Linked DNA regions of Homo sapiens: all the other regions are linked to region 1. Evidence: promoter capture Hi-C in 16 types of primary human blood cells and fetal thymus (Javierre and others, 2016). All regions are on one chromosome and are shown on one strand. The core of a region is centred on a gene start or on the middle of the fragment in contact, and the rest is flanking DNA. Distances in the headings are between cores, read along the strand shown. Region 1 holds the start of NPIPB7 (nuclear pore complex interacting protein family member B7). Region 2 overlaps NFATC2IP (nuclear factor of activated T cells 2 interacting protein). Region 3 has its middle 4.4 kb from the start of NFATC2IP. Region 4 holds the start of RABEP2 (rabaptin, RAB GTPase binding effector protein 2). Region 5 overlaps LOC124903672 (a long non-coding RNA gene). Region 6 has its middle 3.2 kb from the start of XPO6.

What was found. The method cuts DNA at HindIII sites, captures the fragments that hold promoters and counts their contacts. A CHiCAGO score of 5 or more calls a contact.
Region 2: a contact is called between a fragment that was not itself captured here and the fragment with the promoter of NPIPB7 in region 1, in 1 of 17 cell types (total CD8 T cells). The highest score is 5.4, in total CD8 T cells.
Region 3: a contact is called between a fragment that was not itself captured here and the fragment with the promoter of NPIPB7 in region 1, in 1 of 17 cell types (monocytes). The highest score is 5.0, in monocytes.
Region 4: a contact is called between the fragment with the promoter of RABEP2 here and the fragment with the promoter of NPIPB7 in region 1, in 1 of 17 cell types (erythroblasts). The highest score is 5.8, in erythroblasts.
Region 5: a fragment that was not itself captured here is called in contact with the fragment with the promoter of NPIPB7 in region 1 in 1 of 17 cell types (erythroblasts); the score reaches 5.3 in erythroblasts.
Region 6: a contact is called between a fragment that was not itself captured here and the fragment with the promoter of NPIPB7 in region 1, in 1 of 17 cell types (naive CD8 T cells). The highest score is 5.3, in naive CD8 T cells.

What each region holds. Positions count from the first base shown.
Region 1 is chr16:28,470,062-28,474,158 of GRCh38, reverse strand. It overlaps NPIPB7 (nuclear pore complex interacting protein family member B7), which reads left to right and starts at 1,823. Exons shown (of 7, transcript NM_001396030.1): 1 at 1,823-3,786. The coding sequence starts at 3,721. It also overlaps a transcript of CLN3 not described here. RefSeq lists a silencer at 264-333. The HindIII fragment of the contact is 21,132 bases long and covers 1-4,097 here.
Region 2 is chr16:28,961,254-28,965,350 of GRCh38, reverse strand. It overlaps NFATC2IP (nuclear factor of activated T cells 2 interacting protein), which reads right to left. Exons shown (of 8, transcript NM_032815.4): 8 at 1-1,646. The coding sequence ends at 1,488. All of the region lies in intron 1 of NFATC2IP-AS1 (NFATC2IP antisense RNA 1), which reads left to right. Among named protein-coding and RNA genes, the nearest start is that of NFATC2IP-AS1, 3.1 kb to the left of the region's middle. RefSeq lists a silencer at 2,836-3,044. The HindIII fragment of the contact is 1,351 bases long and covers 1,559-2,909 here.
Region 3 is chr16:28,944,513-28,948,609 of GRCh38, reverse strand. No RefSeq gene overlaps it. Among named protein-coding and RNA genes, the nearest start is that of NFATC2IP, 4.4 kb to the left of the region's middle. The HindIII fragment of the contact is 5,380 bases long and covers 1-4,097 here.
Region 4 is chr16:28,923,182-28,927,278 of GRCh38, reverse strand. RABEP2 (rabaptin, RAB GTPase binding effector protein 2) reads left to right here and starts at 2,041. Exons shown (of 13, transcript NM_024816.3): 1 at 2,041-2,176; 2 at 2,664-2,876. The coding sequence starts at 2,116. RefSeq lists enhancers at 998-1,581, 2,560-2,789, 2,820-2,909 and silencers at 1,800-2,149, 2,180-2,399. The HindIII fragment of the contact is 8,433 bases long and covers 113-4,097 here.
Region 5 is chr16:28,816,641-28,820,737 of GRCh38, reverse strand. It overlaps LOC124903672 (a long non-coding RNA gene), which reads left to right. Exons shown (of 2, transcript XR_007065042.1): 2 at 717-1,647. Among named protein-coding and RNA genes, the nearest start is that of ATXN2L, 4.3 kb to the left of the region's middle. The HindIII fragment of the contact is 2,667 bases long and covers 785-3,451 here.
Region 6 is chr16:28,213,075-28,217,171 of GRCh38, reverse strand. No RefSeq gene overlaps it. Among named protein-coding and RNA genes, the nearest start is that of XPO6, 3.2 kb to the right of the region's middle. The HindIII fragment of the contact is 167 bases long and covers 2,115-2,281 here.

The DNA of each region.
Region 1 (4,097 bases), core at 574-3,073:
GTAGCTGGGATTACAGGCACCCACCACCACACCTGGCTAATTTTTGTATTTGTTATGGAGACGAGGTTTCGCCATGTTGGCCAGGCTGGTCTCCAACTTCTAAACTCAGGTGATCCACCGGCCTTGGCCTCCCAGAGTGCTGGGATTACAGGCATGAGCCACCGTGCCCAGCCTCTTTTCCGTTTTTGTTTTTTTTTTTTCCTTTGGTTGTCTGGTTTGGTTTTTATTATAGCCTTTCTAGTGAGTGTGAAGTGGTATCTCACTGTGGTTTTGATTTGCATGTCCCTGGTGACTAATGATGCTGAGCATCTTTTCATGTCCTTATTGACCGTACATATAGTTCTTTGAGAAATGTCTTCTCAGATCCTTTGCCCATTTTTAAATGGGATTGTCTTTTTTTATTAAAGAGCCAGAGATCTGAAGTCTTTTTGAGTTGTAAGATTTCTTCATATATTCTAGACAGAAGTCCCTTATAAGATACATGATTTGCAAATATTTTCTCCCATTCTGTGTTGTCTTTTTACTTTTTTGATATTGTCTTTTGGTACGGAAAGACACTTATTTTGATGAAGTCCAATTTATCTATTTTTTGTTTGGTTGCTTGTGCTTCTGGTAACATATCTAAGTGGGAGCCAGGTGCAGTGGCTCATGCCTGTAATCCCAGCACTTTGGGAGGCCAAGGCGGGAGGTTTGCTTGAGACCAGGAGTTCAAGACCAGCATGAGCAACATTGCAAGGTTCTATCTCTATAAAAAATTAAAATAATGATAAAAGGAGGCCGGGCGTGGTGGCTCATGCCTATAATCCCAGCATTCTGGGAGGCAGGAGGACAACTTGGGCCAGGAGTTCAAGACCAGTCTGGGCATCATGGCAAAAAAAGAAAAAAGAAAAAATTATCCTGGCAAGGTATGCCTGTAGTCCCAGCTACTTGGGAGGCTGAGGCGGGAGAATTGCTTGAGCCCGAGAGGTGGAGGTTGTAGTGAGCTGAGATTGAACCATTGCACTCCAGCCTGGGTGACAGGAATGAAACCCTGTCTCAAAAAATAAAAATAAAATAAGCCAGGTGTAGTGCTGCGTGCCTGTACTCCCAGCTACTCTGGAGGCTGAAGTGGGAGGATCACTTGAGCCTAGGAATTCGAGGCTGCAGTGAGCTATGATCATACCACTGCACCCCAATGTGGGCACAGAGCAAGACCCTATCTCTTAAAAAACAAACAAAGAGGGGCGGGGTGCAGTGGCTCACGCCTGTAATCCCAGCACTTTGGGAGGCTGAGGCGGGCAGATCACGAGGTCAGGAGATCGAGACCATCCTGCCTAACACGGTGAAACCCCATCTCCTTTTTTTTTTTTTTTTTTTTTGAAACAGAGTTTCATTCTTTTTGCCCAGACTCCCGGGTTCAAGCGATTCTCCTGCCTCAGCCTCCTGAGTAGCGGGGATTACAAGGGTGTGCCACCACACCCAGCTAATTTTTTATATTTTTAATAGAGGCGGGGTTTCACCGTGTTGGCCAGGCTGGCCTCAAACTCCTGACCTCAAGTGATCCGCCCACCTCGGCCTCCCAAAGTGCTGGGATTACAGGCGTGAACCAGCGCGCCCAGCCTCCTACATTTTCTTCTAAGAGTTTTATAGTTTTAGCTCTTACATTTAGATCTTGTTTTCATTTTGAATTAACTTTTTTGCAGGTGGTGTGATACAGCAGTCTGTGCAGAAAAAAGTTAACATAGTAGACCCTAACTGCTAACTTTATTTTTACTTTTATTTTTTATTTTGTTTAGAGACAGGGTTTTTGTCACCCAGGATGGAGTGAAGTGGCGTGATCATAGCTCACCGTAACCTTGAACTCCTGGGCTCCTCTGCCTCAGCCTCCCAATTAGCCACCACACCCAGCTACCTTTTGTACATTTTTTTGGTAGAGACGGTGTCTCACTATGTTGCCCAGTCTGGTCTCAAACTCCTCAGCTCAAATGATCTGCCCACCTTGACCTCCAGAGATACTGGGATTACAGGCGTGGGCCACTGCACCAGACCCAGGTTTATTCTTACACCAATACAACACTGTCTTAATTACTATAGCTTTGTAGTGAGCTTTTGAAAATAGGAAATGTGAATCCTCCAACTTTTTTTTTTTGGAGACGGAGTCTCGCTCTGTTGCTCAGACTGGAGTGCAGTGGCACTATCTCAGCTCACTGCAAACTCCATCTTCCAGGTTCAAGTGATTCTCCTGCCTCAGCCTACCAAGTATCTGGGACTACAGGCAGGTGCCACCATGCACAGATTCCTTGGACATCCCTGAGAGGTCAATCATGAAGGTCAACTTGGTTTTCTCCCCCTCATTTGGGTTCAGAATTTAAAGTCCACACACACAGGCAGTAAGATGATTATAGATAAGGACATCATCACTCGGTTTCGGATGTTAAATTGTCTAGGTGGGTTAGGGGTGATTTGAGATCACACAACCTTGTGCCACAAAGAGGAATTCCCAGGCCAGAGGGAGACATTTTATTGCCATGTTATGATCTTATCATTGAGTTGAAAGGCAATCTTGTTTCATTTTGGATTCTTTCTTATGTTTATGTCTTATAAGGGCACTTTGAATTTCCAAGCAAATAATAATTTTGAATTAGCTTTTAATCATTGACTTCTAGCACAGTTATATGATCAGAAACGTGCTGTGTGATTTGATTGCTCTCAAATATATTGAGATTTGCTGGAACAAAATAAGTCAGGTTAATTTTTGTAAATGTACCATGCTTGCTTAAAATGAATGTATCTACATTTGTTCCTGAGATACGGGTTGATGGACGGATGGCTACATGGATGTGATGGAGATGGTTTACTATCGGGACCTTCCGCATCCTGCTGATGTTTTGTTGCTTAGGATATGAATGGCTGAGCGGAGGCTGTAAAACCTGGCACTCTGCTTGGGTATGAGGTTCTTCCTGCCATCCTGCCATCATTTGTTTTTTATGTTTTGTCGCCAAAAGTGACCTTGAGGAACCCTGGGAGCTCAGGAAGGAAGGAGCGCCCAGAAGCAGGGACAGGGAGCTGGTTGGGGAGGACCAGAAATCAGGTTTGTGAAGGTTCCAGAGAGGACCTGTCCTTGCGAGGAGTGTGGGAGACTGAGATGGGGGAGGGGTCATTGGAATGATGCGGGCGCTACTTGGCATTGTCCATTGTGAGGCACCACCGGGGTCATCAGGGATTGGTGGAGAGGGAGTATAAAGCCCCAGGTTTGCTAAGGGAGGGCCCAGACCGAAGAAGGTTTGGCGGATAGCAGAACCTTTTTGTCTCCCTCTAATTGCTCCTAAGCCTCACGCTCCCTTGCCCCGCGTGTCCTGTTGCTTCCCTGATCTTCTCCGTGACCTGTAGCTAAACCTTCCACCAGCGCTTGAGAACTTAATTTGAACCGGATCCTTTCCCAGACCCCTTTCTTCTTCTCCTCCTCCACCTCCTCCAGGTGCCCAACAGCCCCCTTCTCCTCCTTTCCCTTCCCTTACTTCCCCCCTTCCCCTCCCCTTCCCCTCCCCCTCCCCTCCCCTTCCCCTCCCCTTCCCCTTCCCCTCCCCCTCCCCTTCCCCTCCCCCTCCCCTTCCCCTCCCCCTCCCCTCCCCCGCCCCAACTCAGATCCGGCCCCGGTCCCCGTCCCCTTCCCTCCCCCCTGCCCTAAGCCACCTCCACCTCTGTCCTGGCCGCCTCAGGGCACCCTGAAAGGATCAGGACATGCGGCTGCGCTTTTGGCTCCTCATTTGGCTCCTGCTGGGATTTATCAGCCATCAGCCCACCCCTGTGAGTAGACGCTGGACCCGCGGGGTTTCTTCCTTTTTACTGGGCTGTGTCACGCGGCATGAAATTACACAGCTCAGGCCTGTAATCCCAGCACTTTAGGGGGCCGAGGTGGGCAGATCACTTGAGTCCAGGAGTTGAAGACTAGCCAGGGCATCATGGCGAAACCCCATCTCTACAAAAAATTCCAAAAAAGATTAGTCGGGCCTGGTGGTGCGTACCTGTTATCCCAGTTACTGGAGAGGCTGAGGTGGGAGGATCGCTTGGGCCGAGGAGCTGGACGTTGCAGTGAGCTGAGATGGCCCCGCTGCACT
Region 2 (4,097 bases), core at 985-3,484, 490 kb before region 1:
CCAAAGTGCTGGGATTACCAGTGAACCTCCATACCCAGCCCAAATATGCATTCTTGGAATTATCTGCAATTGCCCAAGAATGTACAAGCAACTCCTGAGAATAAACCAAAAAAGATAAGAAACTCCATGAGAAAATGGGCAATGCACAGGAAGGGAAACCAGAAAGGCTAAGTGAAAAAATTCCCCAAATTAATGCTGATCAGATGAATGTATGTTAAAGCACTGCACCACTATCTACCCATGAGACTGGCAAAAATTAGGTAGTCTGGCAATACAAGTGCTGGCAAGGATAAGGAGAAAAGGGCGGCCTCAAGTAGGAGGGTCAGTCACCGTTCTAAAGAAAATCTGGAAAACCAAAGAGAAACTGACCTCTGTGACCTATAGGCCCATCCTGGGTACACATGCCACACAAGCACAGAAGGGAACACACGAAAGGATGTTTATCGTGGCCTGTATCCGGTGCCAAGGGGTCAGGGGCACCCAGGTGTCCCCCACTTTAGGCAATGTGTGTAAACTGCAATTGACATTGTGGAGTGCCACATGGCAGGTCAAAGCAATACTGCATTTCTAGAAGAGTCAATGGGGCTAGATCTTAGCACACATTGAGTGAAAACAGCATAAGACCTATTGCACAATAGCACTATGTACAGTAAAAGCACATATTCACACATGAAACGTGGTATTTTACAAATACATTCATATTCAAAGACATGGGTGCTTATGGGAGAGGATGGTGTAAAGAAAGGGAAAAAAGCCATAAAACCAGAGAATCTTTGCATGGGACTGTATTCCTGAGATCCCAAACCAAAGGGATGAATGTGCTGTTATGCCTTAAATGTGTGCACCAGGAAATGCAAACTAGAAAGGGTGGCTCTGAAGGGTCCTCAGGTGAGGAAGACCCCCAGGGCTGAGAATCCACCACCTTCATCCTTCAAAAGAGTACCTCAGTTGTCTGCTTACGCTTCAGCCAGCATGTGTGAGCTTGGTCATTTCCTGCAAGCCAGGCAACCACACCAGTGTATAAGCCTCAAGCAAATGTCACTCCCAAGCCCCAAATGGGACTAAGGCCTCTGCTGGGCTAGGCGTGGTGTAAATCCCAGGCCTGGAAGCTCCTACCCAACCCTCATTTGTTTCAACTCACTTTCAATATGTGCATAGTTTCATAAAGCAGACATTTCCATGAGGAAAAGAGGATGGTGGTGAAAGGGGAGGGGTGAAGGGACATCTCCAAGTCACAGAGGCTGCAAAACTCAGCATGACTTGTGGACGGAGCCACAGGCCACCCAGGGCAACAACACCCACATAACTCACCAAGTGGTTAACGGCTCTAAACCAGGGTCAACAGGAGAGGGGACAAAAGTCACTCCTTGATTTTGCTGCAGCTTAAAGATAAGTTCTACCTCAGCTTATGCTAGCCCTTATGGGGCAAAAAAGGGAAAGTCATTCTCCCCAAGTCCAGGCTGGGCCGTCAAACAGGGAGTGGGGTGTCAGCCCCAGACCTCAATGAGGTCCCCAGATTCCATGCCCAGGTCAGCTGGCAGCTCCCTGCCTGAAAGCTTTGTCCCATCAAAGAAGAAGGAGAGCTTCCGTCCCGACAGTCCCATGGCCTCCTCATAGTGGGACATGAGGGTCTTTAGAGGGGAATCCTGGATGGAGACAAAAGAAAATGGACGTCAGAACATGAAAGGGGGCGGGGATCCCGTAGGGATAGACGAGGAACTTGGGACAGGGAGGATGGCGGCAGGGGCGGAAACAATAAAGTCAGGGCCCCATGCGGGGAAAGGAGAGAGGACAAAGAAGCCAGCCCAGCCAGGCTCCTCTCTGGGAGCTGGGACGAATCCTGTCATCCCTCTGGGCTCCAAGTTGCTCAGGTAGAGGACGGGGGCCACGAGCCCAAGGCTTAGGGGTATAGGCTCTAAGTCAGGCAAGTCCTCCTAGCCTCAGCCTCCTTCCCTATGAAACAGAAGTGTGTACCAATGACTAAGAGAGCCCAGATTCTAGAGTGAGGATGAGTCGAGCTGGAGGCCAGGCTCTCCCACCTATTAGATATGTGACCTTAGAAAAATGTTACAGGTTATGTTCCCCAGAGAAGACACCTTGTGGTCTTAACCCCTGTTAAGTGTGAATGTGATGTGATTTGGAGACGGGGCCTTTGCAGATGCAATCAAGTTGAGGTTGTACTGGATTGGGACGAGTGCTAATGCCGTGGGACTGGTAGACAACTCACTGCAACCTCTGCCTCCTGGGTTCAAGCAATTCTCCTGCCTCAGCCTCCTGAGTAGCTGCAACTACAGGCACAGGCCACCACACCCAGCTAAGTTTTTGTATTTTTGGTAGAGACAGTTTCTCTGTTGCCCAAGCTGGTCTCAAACTTCCTGAGTTCAGATAAGCCACCCACTTTGGCCTCCCAAAGTGCTGGGATGACAGGCGTGAGCCCCCGCACCCAGCCTGGGACTGGTATGCTTATGGAACAGACACAGAAACAGACATGAGGGGAGAACACACGTGATGACAGAGGCAGAATGGAGTGCACCTGCAAGCCAAGAATGCCAAGGACTGTGGGCCGCCAGCAGGAGCCAGGAGGAGACAGGGCAGATTCCATGAAGAGACCCTGAGGGACTGCGTGATGTTGTCAAATATATATTTGGTCTTTGTATGTTTCCTGGTATAAAATTCCTAAAATCCCTGGGAAAGAGTTAAGTATCTTTTTGCATGCTAATGAGTTGACTGGTGGCTGGCAGCCCCTAGAGAGCTTCAGGAATGGTGCTGGTCACTAGAAAGACCAAGGTAGGATAAGACAGTTGGGACTTTTTCCCCACCCCTCAACCTCCAAGAAGGAGGGAGAGAGTGAAGGTTGAGTCACCACCAATAGCCCATGGTTTAATCAGTCATGCCTATATAACAAAGCTTCCATAAAAATCCAGAGGACAGGGTTTGGAGAACTTCCCAATAGTTGAACATGTGGTGATTCCTGGAGAATGGTGCCCAGGGAAGCTATGGAAGCTCTGCGCCCTTTTCCCATGCTGTGCCCTACACATCTCTTCATCTGTATCCTTTGTAACATCCTTTATAATAAACCAGTAAATGAAAGTAAGTGTCTCCCTGAGTTCTGTAAGCTGCTCTAGCAAATTAAACCCAAGGAGGGGGCGAGGTGCAGTGGCTCATGCCTGTAATCCCAACACTCTGGGAGGCAGAGGTGGGAGGATCAGTTGAGCCCAGGAGTTTGAGTCCAGCCTGGGCAACATAGTGAGACCCCGTCTACACAAAAAAAATTAAAAAATTAGCCAAGGGTAGTGGCACACACCTGTAGTCCCAACTACTCAGGAGGCTGAGGTAGAAGGATCGCTTGAGCCCAGGAGTTTGAGGCTGTGGTAAGCCAAGATCGCACCACTGCACTCCAGCCTGGGCAACAGAGCAAGACCCTGTCTTTTTTTTTTTTTTTTTTTTTTTTGAGACGAAGTCTAGCTCTGTCGCCCAGGCTGGAGTGCAGTGGCTTGATCTTGGCTCACTGCAACCTCCGCCTCCCAGGTTCAAGCGATTCTTCTGCCTCAGCCTCCTGAGTAGCTGGGACTATAGGCGCATGCCACCATGCCCGGCTAATTTTTTGTATTTTTAGTAGAGACAGGGTTTCACCATGTTGATCAGACTGGTCTTGAACTCCTGACCTCGTGATCCGCCCACCTCAGCCTCCCAAAGTGCTGGGATTACAGGCGTGAGCCACCACGTCTGGCCCTGTCTCTTTTTTGTTTTTTTCAAAAGAAAAGAAAAAAATCCTGAGTTTGTTTTCTTCCCCCATATCTTCAGAGACACTTGCTCTGCTAACACCTTGATTTCAGACTTCTACCCTCCAGAACAATGAGAGAATAAATTTATGTTGTTTTAAGCCACCCAACTTGTGGTACTTTGTTACAACAGCCAAAATACAAAAGTGGGGTGCTGCTGGAATAAATGGTTAAATGTAACAGTGGCTTTGAAATTGGATCAGGGCTGGAATAATTTTTTTTTTTTTTTTTTTTTTTTTTTTTCAGATAGGGTCTTGCTGTCTCCCAGGCTGGAGTGCAGTGGCCCAATCTCAGCTCACTGCAGCCTCAATCTCC
Region 3 (4,097 bases), core at 1,174-3,673, 470 kb before region 1:
AACAAAATTAGCTGGGCATGGTGGTGTGCGCCTGTATTCCTAGCTACTTGGGAGGCTGAGGCAGGAGGATCAGTTGAACCCAGGAGGTGGAGGTTGCAGTGACCCGAGATCGAGCCATTGCCCTCCAGCCTGGGAGACAGAGCCAGACTCTGTTGCAAAAGAAAAAAAAAAAAGCCAGGCGCGATGGCCCATACCTGTAATCCCAGCACTTTGGGAGGCCAAGGCGGGCGGATGACAAGGTCCAGAGATTGAGACCATCCTGGCTAACACAGTGAAACCCTGTCTCTACTAAAAAATACAAAAAATTAGCTGGGCGTGGTGGCGGGCGCCTGTAGTCCCAGCTACTCGGGAGGCTGAGGCAGGAGCATGGCATGAACCCAGGAGGCGCAGGTTGCAGTGAGCCGAGATTGCACCACTGCACTCCAGCCTGGGCGACAGAGCGAGACTCCGTCTCAAAAAAAAAAAAAAAAAAAAAAGGCTGAACTATGTTTGACTAAAGGTGTTGTCACGTCCTCTTACGTGAGGACTAGTCATTGTTTATCTTGAAAACATGGTATTGCAACCACCCCTATAAACTTGAGAAGAAGGGAGAGGGAGAAATGAAAAGAAACCAAACTTGCGGTGCACTCAGCATTGATCTCAGGGCAGCTGCTCCCTGACCTGCTTCCCCAAAGCCATCTGGTGCCTGTTGCCCCACAGTCACACAGCCCCTGTCAGAAGATTATAGTTCCCCTTAACTGCTCTTGAATCACGGCTTGGACATTACATTAGGTGTTCCCTTTGAGATATTCCTTCAGGTCTTGATGGAACTACTGATTCAGCTGACCTGAAGGACCCCACAAGGAGCTGACTCCCCGCAAAATGCAGCTTCTACACCCTGACAATTTCATCCCCCTTCCCAACCAATCAATGACCCCAATATTCCAGCCCATCACTCCCCACAAACCCCTTAAAAGCCCAGCCCAGAACTCCCTGGAGAGAGATTTGAGGGTCTCCTCCCATCACCTCGCTCGGCACCCTGCAATCATTAAACTCTCTCTGCTGCATCCCCACCGTCTCAGAGTCACAGAGCTGTGACTGCACAGTGGGCATATGAACCTGCAGCTCCTGTAACAATATGGAATTTGAAATTTTATCTTGAAAACAGGATAATGGTTTACACCTGCTTGGCTGTAATGAAGGATATTTCTTTTTGCCTTTGCAATCTTTTACCAGATTGCCAGTGATGTGCATCACATTCTAACTTAATGCTTATTCAAGCCGGGTGCAGTGGCTCACGCCTCTAATCCCAGTACTTTGGGAGGCTGAGGTGGTTGGATCACCTGAGGTCAGGAGTTCGAGACCAGCCTGGCCAATATGGTGGTGTATTTTTCTACTAAAAATACAAAAAATTAGCCAGGCATTGTGGTGGGCACCTGTAATCCCAACTACTCCGGAGCCTGAGGCAGGAGGATCACTTGAACCCGGGAGGCAGAGGTTCCAGTGAGCTGAGATTGTGCCATTGCACTCCAGCATGGGCAACAAGAGTGAAACTCCATGTCAAAAAAGAAAGAAAAATTATGCTTATTCAATAATAAAACCAGCCCGGGCATGTTGGCTTATGCCTGTAATCCCAGCACTGGGAGCCTGAGGTGGGAGGATCACTTGAGGTCTAGGGTTCAAGGCCAGCCTGGGCAATATAGCAAGACCCTGTCTCTACAAAAAGTAATAATAATTAGTGGGTGTCGTGATGCACACCTGTAGTCCTAGCTACTTGGGAGGCTGATTGAGCCCAGGAGTTCAAGGCTGCAGTGAGCTATGATCTCACCACTTCACTCGAGCCTGGGCAACAGAGCAAGACCCTCTCTCTAAAAATAAATAAATACATACAATTTAAGGCCAGGCACAGTGGTTCACGTCTGTAATCCCAGCACTTTGGGAGGCCAAGGTGGGAGGATCACTTCAGGCTGAGCGTTAAGACCCGCCTAGGCAATATAGTAAAACCCCCAACTCTACGAAAAATAATAATACATTTTAAAACTTTTTTTTTTTTGAGATGGAGTTCCACTCTTGTTGCCCAGGCTGGAGTGCAGTGGCACAATCTTGGATCACTGCAACCTCCACCTCCCGGGTTCAAGCGATTCTCCTGCCTCAGCCTCCTGAGTAGCTGGGATTACAGACATGCGCCACCACGCCTGGCTAATTTTTTGTACTTTTAGTAGAGATGGAGTTTCACCATGTTGGTCAGGCTGGTCTCGAACTCCCAACCTCAGGTGAGCCGCCCGCCTCAGCCACCCAAAGTGCTGGGATTACAGGCGTGAGCCATCACGCCAGGCCCATTTTACAACTTTTTAACCAAAAATAATAATAAAACTGTTTTCTGTCTCTACTACCTTTGTGGAGAAGTTTGTTGGGTTTAGATATTTTGTTTCTTAATTATATTTCCCAAACACACTCGCCAACACCTCCTACCAACAATATTGTGCACCTCAGAGACTACACGCCCTCCACACATCCACAGCGTTGGCAACTCCTGCACAACATATATCCCAACACAACACAAACACGCCCCTTCAACACTTCACTCTTCCCACTTTGCCTCCAACCGTATAACCACCTGCCGCCTCACACTTACGTCCCACGCCACACGTCGCTCAGGATACCCACACCGCACACACCCAATACCACATGCTGCTCACACCCACGGTGCTCACAAAACTCGCGCCTCATACATCCACGCAGAACGGCATGTCCACCTCTGCCCTAGTCTCATCCCATACGCCTCCATCCCAACCGCGGCACCGATGTCCCCTGCAGGCGCCCCCCGCTGGACCAGCATGCATTTCCCTTCCCCGTGCAGACTCCGCCAAGGTCAGGACTGCAGGCGCACAACAGCCAGCAGGTGGAGCTGTTTTCCAGGAAACGGAGGCTCCTGGACTCCACCGACTTCCCAGCCCCAGGAGGCCTTCAGCCTCTCTCTGTAGCCAGGCGGCAGGCCAGTCTTGGGCGCTCCCGGGAAACCACTGCAAACCGCAAGCAGGAGGTGGCCCTGAGAGTCTAAAATTTTCAAGTCTCCTTTCCCCAAACCTTGCTCAAGAGCTGAAAGTGCACCTGTAAGTCCCAGCTACTAGGAATGCTTGAGATGGGAAGATTGCTTGAGTCCAGGAGCTCAAGGCTAGCCTGGGCACACATAGCGAGACCTCATCTCTGTTTTTTGTTTTTGTTTTTGTTTGAGACGGAGTCTCGCTCTGTTGCCAGGCTGGAGTGCAGTGGCGTGATCTCGGCTCACTGCAACATCCGCCTCCTGGGTTCAAGCGATTCTCCTGCTCAGCCTCTCAAGTAGCTGGGACTACAGGCGTGTGCCACCAGGCCCGGCTAATTTTTGTATTTCTAGTAGAGGCGGGGTTTCACCATGTTGGCCAGGATGGTCTCAATCTCTTGACCTAGTGATCCACCCGCCTCAGCCTCCAAAAGTGCTGAGATTACAAGTGTGAGCCACCGTGCCCAGCCAAGACCTCATCTCTTAAAAAAAAAAAAAATTATTTTTTGGCCAGGCGCAGTGGCTCACGACTGTAATCCTAGCCCTTTGGGAGGCCGAGGTGGGAGGATCACTTGAGGCCAGGAGCTCAAGTCTAGCCTGGGCAACATGGCAAAACCCCTTCTCTACCAAAAAATACAGAAGTTAGCCAGCCGGGTGTGGTGGTGCACGCCTATAGTCCCAGCTACTAGGGAGGCTGAGGTGAGAGAACTACTCAAATCCAGGAGTTCAAAGTTACGGTGGGCTATGATTGTGCCATTACCCTCTAACCTGGCCTAGCCTAGCCTAGTGAGACCCTGTCTCAAAATAAATAAATAAATAAATAAATAAATAAATAAGATGTCAAATAATAAGAGCTCATGCTTGAGTCCTTGCTAAGCCACTGTTGTATGCTTTACGTGTCATTTAAGACTCATTGATAATGTCCTCATTTTCTGAATTACTATTTCATGGTCTATTTTACAGACCAGGAAATTGCAGTTCAGAGAGCTTAAGCCATGTAGCTGGAAAGGGGTGGAGCCAGGATTCACATAAACCCAGCTAGTCTGGGCCAGGCACAGTGGCTTATGCCTGTAAACCC
Region 4 (4,097 bases), core at 792-3,291, 450 kb before region 1:
CATTATAGGCATAAGCCACCACACTCAGCCAGAGGTGGTTATTTTAGTTAGGGTGATCAGGGAAGGCCTCACTGAGGAGGTAACATTTGAGCCGAGACCTCAGCTCCAAGCTTGGTGGAAAACACTTGGTTTTATACTTGATGAAAAAGTAAGTGCGTGTTTAGTTTTGTTCAAAACTGCCATACTCTTTTTGCAGAGTGGCTATACCATTTCACATTCCCATCAACAAAATATGAGAAACCTAGTTTCTCCACATACTCACCAGCATTTGGTGTTAGCATTCTTATTTTAGCCATTCCAAGAAGTGCGTAGTGATGAAAGCAATTGTGGTTTTAATTTGTATTTCCCGAATAAATAGCTAATGATGTTTAACATCTTTTCATGCACATATTGCCACCTGTGACAGCAGTGAAATATCCGTTCATATCCTTTGTCCATTTTCTTTATTTCAAGTTCTGGGGTACATGTGCACGATGTGCAGGTTTGTTACACAGGGAAACATCTGCCATGGTAGTTTACCGCACCCATTAACCCATCACCTAGGTATCAAGCCCAGGATGCATTAGCTACTCTTGCTGATGCTCTCCCTCCCCCCTCCCAACACCCACCCCACAGGCCCCCATGTGTGTTGGTCCCCTCCCTGTGTCCATGTGTTCTCATTGTTCAGCTCCCACTTATAAGTGAGAACATGCATGTTTAGCTTTCTGTTGCTGCATTAATTTGCTGAGGATAATAGCTTCTAGCTTCATCCATGTCCCTGCAAAGGACATGATCTCGTTCCTTTTTATGGCTGTATAGTATTCCATGGTGTATATGTACCACATTTTCTTTATCCAGTCTATCATTGATGGGCATTTGGGTTGAGTCCATGTCTTTGCTATTTTGAATAGTGCTTCAATGAACATACTCGTGCATGTATCTTTGTAATAGAATGATTTATATTCCTTTAGGTATATACCCAGTAATGGGATTTCTGGGTCAAATGGTATTTCTGGTTCTAGGTCTTTGAGGAATCACCACACTGTCTTCCACAATGGTTGAACTAATTTACATTCCCACCAACAGTGTAAAAGCGTTCTACCTTTGGCCATTTTCAAACTGCATTATCTGTTTTACAAAAATCGCTCCAGCTGCTTTACGGAGAATTAATTAATTAAAGGGTGGAGTCGACACTGCGGAAGTTCAGGAGAAGTGATGGGAGCTGGGACGGAGTGTTAGCGCTGGAGATGGAGAAAAAGGGGCACATTCTGGAATAGTCAGCACATTGGAAGTAGAGTTTACGGGACTTGCAGGAGGACACGTAGAATCAAGGACTTCCAGGTTCCTGGCGTGTCCTTTACAGAGGGAAAAAAGGTTTGAGGGAAGGGGAACCAAGGCTCTGGACATAAATCTGAATTGCCTGTCACCGTCCGGGTGGAGGTCACAGATAAAGAGCCTGATCTAGACACAGGCGGAGAGGAGAGGAGGGATTTGAGGGCGTTGGGAGGAGGAAAGGGGGGCCAGCAGGAAGCGGTGACTGGCTGAGTAACAAAATGGGGGTGGGGACGTGCAAGTTTCAGACTCCGACTAACTACGCGGGGACTCCGAGGCGCTCAGAAAAATGAAGCCGACCCGGCCCTGCCCCGAGGGACGCTCCAAGAGGGCGGAGGTGCAGGGAGGGCCCCGCCACAATTCGCGGTAACGCAAGCCAGGCTCGGGCGGAAGGGCGGCCGGAGCCGATCAAAGGCTGGCTCCGGGCAGGGGCAGCGAGGGAGCGAGGGGGAGCTCTCCGCAGGCCGGTGTCCCGGAGGAGGCATAATTGGAGCAGGGCTTCCAAGGTCACGGAGAGACGCCGGGCAAGACCTCTTAAGGATCCTCTTCCGGGCTTGAAAGGCAGGCGTCCTCCCGAACCGCGCGACCCAGCCAAGAAGAGCCGGGGCGGGGCCGGGGCCGGGGCCGGGGGCCGACTCGGGAATCTTCGGCCGAGGCTCGGCAATCCCCCCATCCTCCGTCCGGGGCCTCCAGCCCGGGGCCGATCCGGAAACAGCCGAGCGGATCCGGAAACAGCCGAGAGGACCCGGAAGCGGTGCGCTCCGTCACCAGGGAGTGCGGGAATCCGCCGTTTGCGCTGAGGCAATGGCGGCAGCTGCGCCGGTGGCCGCGGACGACGATGAGCGGCGGCGGCGGCCGGGGGCTGGTACGTGAGGGGGCGTCCGTGCAAGCGGGGAACGGTGATGCTGGGGGCGGGGCCGAGCCAGCCACCTGCGGATGGGGGGTGGAGAGGGATGATGGAGGAAGGGGCGGGGCCACGCCGTCGGGAAAGGGGGCGGGGCCTACAGCCACAGGCAAAAGGGGGCGTGGCCCGGCCATTGAAGGGGTAGGGCCAGTGACAGGTGCGAAGTGGGGCCCGGTGAGGAAGGGGCGCGGCCACTAGGAGGGCGGGGCCAGGTGGGACCGAAGAGAGGACTGAGTGAAACTGGCCACCGCGAAGAGATGGAGTGTAGGCAGCACCCGGCAGAGCGAGTGGGAAGGGGGCGGGGCAGGGGCGGGGCCAGGTGAGCCGGGCGGGCCCAGGTGAAGGAGGCCCCAGATGAAGGCAACAGTACTAGGTTGCAGGACTTGCTAAGCCGGTAGGTGGCCTGGGGTAAGAGATGGGAAGAGAGGCTGATCCCTGTCCCCCACAGCACTGGAGGACTCCCGGTCCCAGGAAGGGGCAAATGGTGAGGCCGAGTCAGGTGAGCTCAGCCGGCTTCGGGCTGAGCTGGCAGGCGCCCTGGCAGAAATGGAAACCATGAAGGCTGTGGCAGAGGTGAGCGAGAGCACGAAGGCCGAGGCTGTGGCTGCGGTGCAGCGGCAGTGCCAAGAGGAGGTGGCCTCGCTGCAGGCCATCCTGAAAGGTGAGACGCGGGACTCACCTAGACTCCCCATCAACCCCATACTGGGGAGTGCATGACGAGAAAGGGATTGGGGGCACAGATAAGCTATGGGATAGGTTAGCAGGGCTGCCTGGCACAGGGCATGCCTATGGCCCAGAGGAAGGGCCGCCCTTTTAAAATTTGCATAGAGGCCCTCCATGTGATAGCAGCAGCTCTGTCAGTTATAGCTAAGTTTAGCTCCCAGCTTCTATCTGTTGCCTTGTCCCATGTCATTTCTTGTCCCTCACTGATGATTGATCAACCCTGAAGATGGGCGAGAAACTTCTCAGTTCCCCAAACCAACCTCATTTTAGTCTGGACTTCTGGGAAATAGAATCAGCCCTGGCCCAGTCTCTGTGAGTCTAATGCTCTGCTCTCTAGCCTTCCCCAGACACTCCCCCCTCCACCCCACGCCATGCACCAGCTTCCCCACCTCCGCCCCACGTTCTTTGTACTTGGTCCTCTGGCCCCAGACGCCCCAGCTGCTGATCCTGTTTTCTACTCTCCTTCCTCTAGCAGAAGCCAGAGACTCTGAAACAGATGTCAGAGCTGCCCCCGCTGCTATGCCCCTGCTGCGGTGGGGCTCTCGTCAACTCTCTCCTGGACTTTTGTCCCAACCTTCTCACAGATCTTCCTCTATAGTGTGGCCTTGACATTGGCTTCCAGAGTAAACTTCCTAAAATTCCCTTCCCAACATGCGATTTCCCTTTCTAACAGCTGCTGGTGGCTGGAGACTTCTCTGGGGCTGTATTTCCCACATTTCAGGATCCACCTGCCTGTGCAATGTAGACACATCCTTGTACAACTTACTGTGCTGTTTACTTAATATTTGTTCTTTAAATAGATCCACATTTTAAAAGTTTACATACATTTATTAAGGGAAACTTGTTATATCTACTATATAAGAAAAGCCAGGTGTGTCCTAAATAATAACAATAGCTAGCTTTTTTTTTTTTTCTTGAGTCAATAAGAGTTTCACTCTGTCGCCCAAGCTGGAGTGCGTCACAGCACGCTGGTGTGATCTCAGCTCACTGCAACCTCCACCTCCTGGGCTCAAGCAGATCCTCCTACCTCAGCCTCCCAAGTAGCCAAGACTACAGGTGCATGCCACCATGCCTGGCTAATTTTTAGTATTTTTTTGTAGAAACAGGGTCTCTCTATGTTACCCAGACAGGTCTTGAACTCCTGAGCTCAAACGATCTG
Region 5 (4,097 bases), core at 869-3,368, 350 kb before region 1:
TCAGGTGATCCACCCGCCTCGACCTCCGAAAGTGCTGGGATTACAGGCATGAGCCACCACGCCCAGCCCAAATGGTGTTTTAAAGGTCATCATGTCTCCTGGGTTCCCTAACAAACACAGTCCAGCTTTTTCCTGGCATTACCTGGACCACCTGATGCCATGCCACCTCTCTACCCTCATTGACAGATTGTGAGCACTGAGCACTCTAACCCCCTTCCATCTACCCCATCCTGCTCCACACTCAAATTCTGAGTTTTAGCCCCATGAAACTTCTTTCTCCATAGCTTGCCTTGCCCTTGCTAGTGGCAGCTAATTTGCATGGGGTCTACAGCAACCTCAATTCTTGCCTCCTCAGAAGAAAGAATTCCACCAAGGGGCATAAGGCAGAGGGAGAGACAGAGGCAAGTTTTAGAGCAGGAGTGAACGTTTATTAAAAAGTTTTAGAGCAGGAATGAAAGGAAGTAAAGTACACTTGGAAGAGGGCCAGGCGTGAATGACTTGACAGATTCAAGTCCCTGGTTTGACCTTTGACTTGGGGTTTCATATGCTGGCATGCTTCCAGGGATTTACGGTTTGCATCTCTTCTCCCCTGATTCCTACCTTGGCATGGGCTGTCCACATGCACGGTGGCCTGCCAGCACTTGGAGGGGCCACAAGCACAGTGTGTTCAGTATACTGAAGTGCACATGCTCACTTAAGACGTTCTTCCCTTACAGATCTAGCATTCCTGGAGGAAGGGCATGTACCATTAAACTCCGCCATTTTGCCTCTTGGTGCATAAGCTTGAGCCCATTTACCCAACTTCTGAGATCTTATCGAGAAGCTGCTGATCATCAGTTTCAAGTGTTTTCCATCTATTTGGAGACTGCCTTTCCCTGGTGCTGGCTGCAACCAATTACTATTTTAGAGACAAGTTTAACAACCACCTGACCATCACCTGATGGTTGCCTAACATTCCTGGTGGTGGGGTTGGGGCAGCACTCCTGCCCCAACAATGGGAATGTTGTCTTATCGTGTGCAATTTAAAAATTATATCACTATGGCCAGGCTCAGTGGCTCACGCCTGTAATCCCAGCACTTTGGGAGGCCGAGGTGGTTGGATCGTGAGGTCAGGAGTTCGAGACCAGCCTGGCCAATATGGTGAAACCCCGTCTCTACTAATAATACAAAAATTAGCTGGGTGTGGTGGCTCACGCCTGTAGTCCCAGCTACTCGGGAGCCTGAGGCAGAAGAATCGCTTGAACCCGGGAGGTGGAGGTTGCAGTGAGCCAAGATCATGCCACTGCACTCCAGCCTGGATGACAGAGCCAGACTCCATCTCATAAAAAAAAAAAAAAAAAAAAAAAGAAAAGAAAAAGAAAGCAAACTTCAAAAGACTGTGCTACCTTTTGTATACTGTGCTACCTTTTGTATAAGGAAGAAGGGGAAATATGAAGACATAAATGTATCTGCAGGTTTTTGCCAAGAAAAACAAAGTATAAACCAGAAACTCATCAAATTGATTACCTGTGATGGGGGGATGGGGGAAAATGAGGATTGCTTGAGCTCAGGAGGTCCTGGCTGCAGTGAGCCGTGATCTCGCCACTGCACTCCAGCCTGAGCGACAGAGCGAGACCCTATCTCAAAATAAAAACAAAACAGACAGTATGGGGAAAATTGATAAATTTGGAATATAGACTACAAAGTATTGCATCCATGATAAATTTCCTGAATGTGTTATGACTCTACTGGAGATATGGAAGGATGTATTCTTTTTTGTGGTTGTTGAGACAGGGTCTCGCTCTTGTCACCCAGGCTGGAGTGCAGCAGTGGGGTCTTGGCTCAATGCAGCCTCCACCTCCCAGGCTCAAGAGATCCTCCCACCTCAGTCTCCCAAGTAGTTGTGGCTGGAACTATAGGTGTGCACCACCACGCCCAGCTAATTTTTTGTTTCTTGGTTTTTTTTTCTTTTGGTAAAGATGGGGTTTTGCTGTGTTGCCCATGCTGGTCTTGAACTGCTGGCCTCAAGCTATCCACCTGCCTCTGCCTCCCAAAGTGTTGGGATCACAGATGTGAGCCACCATGTCCGGCCAGGGTGTTTTTTTGTTTTGTTTTGTTTTTTGTTTTTTGAGACAGAGTCTCCCTCCCTCTTGTCACCCAGGCTGCAGTGCAGTGGTGAGATCCCAGCTCACTGCAACCTCCGCCTCCTGGGTTCAAGTGATTCTCCTGCCTCAGCCTCCCGAGTAGCTGGGATTACAGGCGTGTGCCACCACGCCTGGCTAATTTTGTATTTTTAGTAGAGAGGGGGTTTCTCCATGTTAGTCAGGCTGGTCTTGAACTCCTGACCTCAGGTGATCCACCCTCCTTGGCCTCCCAAAGTGCTGGGATTACAGGCGTGAGCCACTGCGCCCGGCCTAATTTTTGTATTTTTAGTAGATACGGGGTTTCACCACATTAGCCAGGCTGGTCTTGAACTCCTGACCTCAAGTGATCTGCCCACCTTGGCCTCCCAAAGTGCTGGGATTACAGGCGTGAGCCACCAAGCCCAGCCCAGGGTATATTCTTAGTAAATATATAAAGAAGTATGATGGGGCAACAGAGTGTGATAGATGCAACCTACTCTCAAATGTTTCCAAAAGGCCAGGTGTGGTGGCTCATGCCTGTAATCTCAGCACTTTGGGAGGCTGAGGTGGGTGGATCATTTGAGGTCAGGAGCTCGAGACCAGCCTGGCCAACATGGTGAAACCCTGTCTCTACTAAAATACAAAAAATTAGCCAGGCGTAGTGGTGCGCGCCTGTAGTTCCAGCTACTCGGGAGGCTGAGGCAGGGGAATCGCTTGAACCCGGGAGGTGGAGATTGCAGTGAGCCGAGATCTTGCCACTGCACTCCAGCCTGGCAACAGAATGAGTCTCACACACAAACAAGGTTTCCAAAAAAAGCATATATATATATATATATATACACATACACACACATATATATGTATAATATACACACAGAAAGAGAAAATGCAAATGTGGCAAAATATTAACAACTGGTGAATCTGGGTAAATGTTATCCTGACGTTCTAGACTTTCCTGGAAACGCTAGCCTTTTAACATCTCTGTACATTTGAAATTGTTTCAAAATAAAGAATTTGAAGCCCAGGCATGGTGGCTCACACCTGTAATCCCAGCACTTTGGTAGGCCGAGGTGGGCAGATCACCCGAGGTCAGGAGTTCAAGACCAGCCTGAGCAACATGGATAAACCCCATCTCTACTAAAAATACAAAATTAGCTGGGCATGGTGGCGCATGCCTGTAATCCCAGCTACTCGGGAGGCTGAGGCAGGAGAATCGCTTGAACCTGGGACACAGAGGTTGCGATGAGCCGAGATCGTGCCATTGCACTCCAGCCTGGGCAACAAGAGTGAAACTCTGTCTCAAAAAAAAAAAAGAATTTGCACATAAGTAGTAAAATTAGTTCAAAGCTTTTGGAAATATAAAAATAGTAAAAATTGGCTGGGCACAGTGGCTCACGCCTGTAATCCCAGCCCTTTGGGAGGCCGAGGCAGGCAGATCACGAGGTCAGGATATCGAGACCATCCTGGCTAACATGGTGAAAACCCATCGCTACTAAAAATACAAAAAAATTAGCCAGGAATGGTGGTGGGCGCCTGTAGTCCCAGCTATTCGGGAGGCTGAGGCAGGAGAATGGCGTGAACCCGGGAAGCGGAGCTTGCAGTGAGCCAAGACGGCGCCACTGCACTTCAGTCTGGGTGACAGAGCAAGACTCCGTCTCAAAAAAAAAAGTAAAAATTGTCCAGGCGCAGTGGCTCATGCCTGTAATCCCAGCACTTTGGGAGGCTGAGGCAGGCAGATCACTTGAGGTAAGGAGTTCGAGACCAGCCTGGCCAACATGGTGAAACTCCATCTCTACTAAAAATACAAAAATTAGCCGGGCCTGGTGGCAGGCGCCTGTAATCCCAGCTACTCGGGAGGCTGAGGCAGGAGAATCGCTTGACCCTGGGAGGTGGACAGAGGTTGCAGTGAGCCGAGATCATGCCACTGCACTCCAGCCTGTGCGACAGGTGGAGACTCCATCTCAAAACAAAAACAGAAAAAAACCCCAACAAACA
Region 6 (4,097 bases), core at 949-3,448, 260 kb after region 1:
CCCACCTTGTTACTTGCAATGAAACGGACACAGTGGAAGACAGCTTGGAGTAGGAAAAGGACTGAAGACTGCAGCAGCCAGGTGAACTTCTATTCGTCCATCAAGACCCAACCCAAAGGTTACCATCTTTGTTGCTTCCTCCCCATTTCCTCGTACGCTTAGGAAGTTCATACACACCTCACAATGTGCTGTAATTATTTGGGTGGCTGTTGCTGACCCAGACAGTGGACAATTTGCCTGATTCTTATTCACTTTAAATACTTCATTTTTAGCAAAAGGCCTGGCACAAAGCTAATACTAACTCACTGAAAGTTTGTTGAATGAATAACTAAATGCAGGCGATCAAGGCAGTAGCAATAGAAATAGGCAGGCAGAGATGGCTGGGGGCCATCCCTGCAGTGCCAACTAAAAGTAATAGCAGCCTTAAATCTTTTTTTGGAATAAGACAGGCTTCAGATTAATATTAATAACAAAATGTTATTTAGTTTACTTGAACAAAATCCCTGGAGTCAAATTTATAATAGCTGTGACTTATCTCATGCCTCATGTGCCAGGTGTTTTATGTACATTAAATTAAATCTTCACCCCAGCCTGGCAATGGAGCTATGATGTGGTGACTCCACACATCCAGTTTATTCTGAGGAATTGAAAGCAACTCCAGGGGATTCTATAAGCCACTCATAGCAGTTCCACCCTCCTTCACTACGGCTAGATCCGGGGGACTAGGCCTAGGCCAATTAGGATCAGTAGGGAAAGCTTCTTGGCTTGAGAAAGGATGTGAGAAAGGTGCTCTCTCTTTTTTCTTTATTTTGAGATGGAGTCTCACTCTGTCACCCAGGCTGGAGTGCAGTGGTGCAATCTCGGCTCACTGCAACCTCTGCCTCCTGGGTTCAAGCAATTCTCCTGCCTCAGCCTCCTGAGTAGCTGGGACTACAGGCGCCTGCCACCATGCCCAGCTAATTTTTTTTTTTTTTTTTTTTGAGATGGAGTTTTGCTCTGGTTGCCCAGGCTGGAGTGCAATGGTGCAATCTCGGCTCACCACAACATCCGCCTCCCGGGTTCAAGCGATTCTCCTGCCTCAGCTTCCCAAGTAGCTAGGATTACAGGTATGCGCCACCACACCTGGCTAATTTTTTGTATTTTTAGTAGAGACGGGGTTTCTCCATATTGGCTAGGCTGGTCTCAAACTCTCGACCTTAGGTGATCCACCCACCTCGGCCTCCCAAAGTGCTGGGATTACAGGCATGAGCCACCATGCCCAGCCTCATTTTTGTATTTTTAAGTAGAGATGGGGTTTCACCAGTTGGCCAGGCTGGTCTCAAACTGCTGACCTCAAGCGATCCATCCACCTTGGCCTCCCAAAGTGTTGGGGATTACAGGTGTGAGCCACTGTGCCCGGCCAAAAGGTGCTCTCTTTTGCTGGATTTGAACAGGGAATTTTGTGGCCCTGGCTGTTCCTGGCAACCACCTTGACAACAAGTCTGATAATGGAGAAGAGCAGAGCAAGGAAGTCCTAGAGGAATGGCCGGGCGTGGTGGCTCATGCCTGTAATCCCAGCACTTTGGGAGGCCGGGGTGGGCAGATCACTTGAGCTCAGAAGTTGGAGACTAGCCTGGGCAACACAGTGAGACATTGTCTTTGCTGAAAAAAAAAAAATCAGCTGGGCATAGTGGCGCACACCTGTAGTCCCAGCTAACTGGGAGTTTAAGGTGAGAGGCTTGCTTGAGCTTGGGAGGTCGAGACTGCAGTGAGCTGTGATTGCGCCACTGCACTCTAGCATGGAGAACAGACTGAGACCCTGTCTCAAAAAAATAAAACAAAACAAAACAAACAAACAAACAAACAAACACACACAAAACCACACACAGAAAAAAAAGAAAATCCTAGAGGAATGGATCTAGGCCTCCCATCACACCCAGCCAAAAGCTAATGAATCTCTGGAAGTCCAGTTATGTAACCCAAAGGCATACCCTTAAGTGAGTCAGTTGCATTTCTGTTATCTCATTCAATTTTACAGTAAGGAAACCAAGACTTCGAGAGTCAATAACTCAAGATACCTTAGCTAGTGAAGTTAAGAGCTGGATTCCACTCCAAATGAGTCTCAACCCAAAGCTTTCACTCATCCTACTAAACTAAGCCAAGTAAGTGACTTGGCCTCCATTCCGATTCATCAGCTTACCTACTGAGATGGCTTCTCTTGTACATGCTGTTTCTACTGCCTGGAATGTTCTATGCCCCCTCTCTTTGCCTAGCAAACTCCTGCTTCTTTAAGGCCAAAGCTTAAAGAAATGTCACTTCCTGACTTCCTCCCCATCCTAATCTGCCAGATTATTTTAGATCCCTTGGCCTTATTAGCGTGTAAACTATATTAAAGTTATATCATGTTAGTTTCAATTTTTCCTTCATTGCTCTTATCACAATAACTGATCCATTATTGTACAATATTTTACAAATAATTTGTCTTTAAATTCCATAAGGGCACACATATATTTGTTTTGCTCAGCATTGAATCCTTGAAATAGTGACTGTCACTTAGTGGACAACAATAAAGATTTGATAAAATAAATGTGCTTGAGGCTGGGCATGGTGGCTCATGCCTGTAATCCCAGAACTTTGGGAGGTCGAGGTGGGCGCATCACTTGAGGTCAGGAGGTGAGACCATCCTGGCCAACATGGCGAAACCCCGTCTCTACTAAAAATACAAAAATAAATTTAGCTGGGTGTGGTGGCAGGTGCCTGTAATCCCAGCTACTTGGGAGGCTGAGGCAGGAGAATTGCTTGAACCTGGGAGGCAGAGGTTGCAGTGAGCCGAGATTGCACCATTGTACTCCAGCCTGGGCAACAAGAGCGAAACTCCCTCTCAAGAGAAAAAAAAATAGTGCTTGATGGCCTGGCGCGGTGGCTCATGCCTGTAATCTCAGCACTTTGGGAGGACGAGGCGGGTGGATCACCTGAGGTCGGGAGTTTGAGACCAGCCTGACCAACATGGTGAAACCCCGTCTCTACTGAAAATACAAAAAATTAGTTGGGTGCGGTGGTGGGCTCCTGTAATCCCAGCTACTTGGGAGGCTGAGGCAGGAGAATTGCTTGAACCCAGGAGGCGGACGTTGCGGTGAGCCGAGATCATGCCATTGCACTCCAGCCTGGGCAACAAGACCGAAACTCTGTCTCATTAAAAAAAAAAAAAAAGTGCTTGAGGCTGGGAGTTTGAGGCTGCAGTGAGCCATGATCATGTCACTGCAACAGAGTGAGACCCTTTCTCCAAAAACAAACAAACAAACAAACAAACAAAAAACTAAAAAACCCCTGAAAGCTATTGCTTTCAGTGGTAAAGTGTTGTATCAGTGGTTCTCCAAATGTGGTATCTAGACCTGCAGCATCAGCTTCATTTGGGAGCTTGTTAGAAATGCAAATTATTCAGCCCCATCTCAAACCTACTGGATGGGAAAGTCTATGAGTGGAGCGAGTAATCTTTGTTTTAACAGTCCTTCTGGGTGAATTGATTCAGATCACACTGAGGTTTGACAGGAAAGAAAAATAGCTCAGGGAAGTCTGAGTTATGTGAAGTATGCAAAATTTGTCAGGTCCACTGAGACTTGTGTATGGGAGTTCGGGCACACTCCCACCTCCACATGCTCGGGGACAATTGTTTAAAGATATTTTGTTCCAGACTAGCTGCCTCCCCCATTTCCTTCAGGTTCCTGAAATTTGTGATACAAAGAACAATGTATAGGCAATAGCTTATGTTATTTTTTCCCCCTTTCTCATCATTCCTATTCAACCTTATGTTATGCCTCTTTTTTCCTTAGAAACCCACTTGAAGCCAGGCGGGAGGGCTCACGCCTGTAATCCCAGCACTTTGGGAGGCCGAGGCTGGCGGATCACCTGAGGTCGGGAGTTCAAGACCAGCCTGGCCACTATGGTGAAACTCCGTTTCTACTAAAAATAAAAAAAATAGCCGGGCATCATGGTGGGTGCCTGTAGTCCCAGCTACTCGAGAGGCTGAGGCAGGATAATCGTTTGAACCCGGGAGGCGGAAGTTGCAGTGAGCTGAGATTGCACCATTGCACTCCAGCCTGGGCGACAAAGCGAGACTC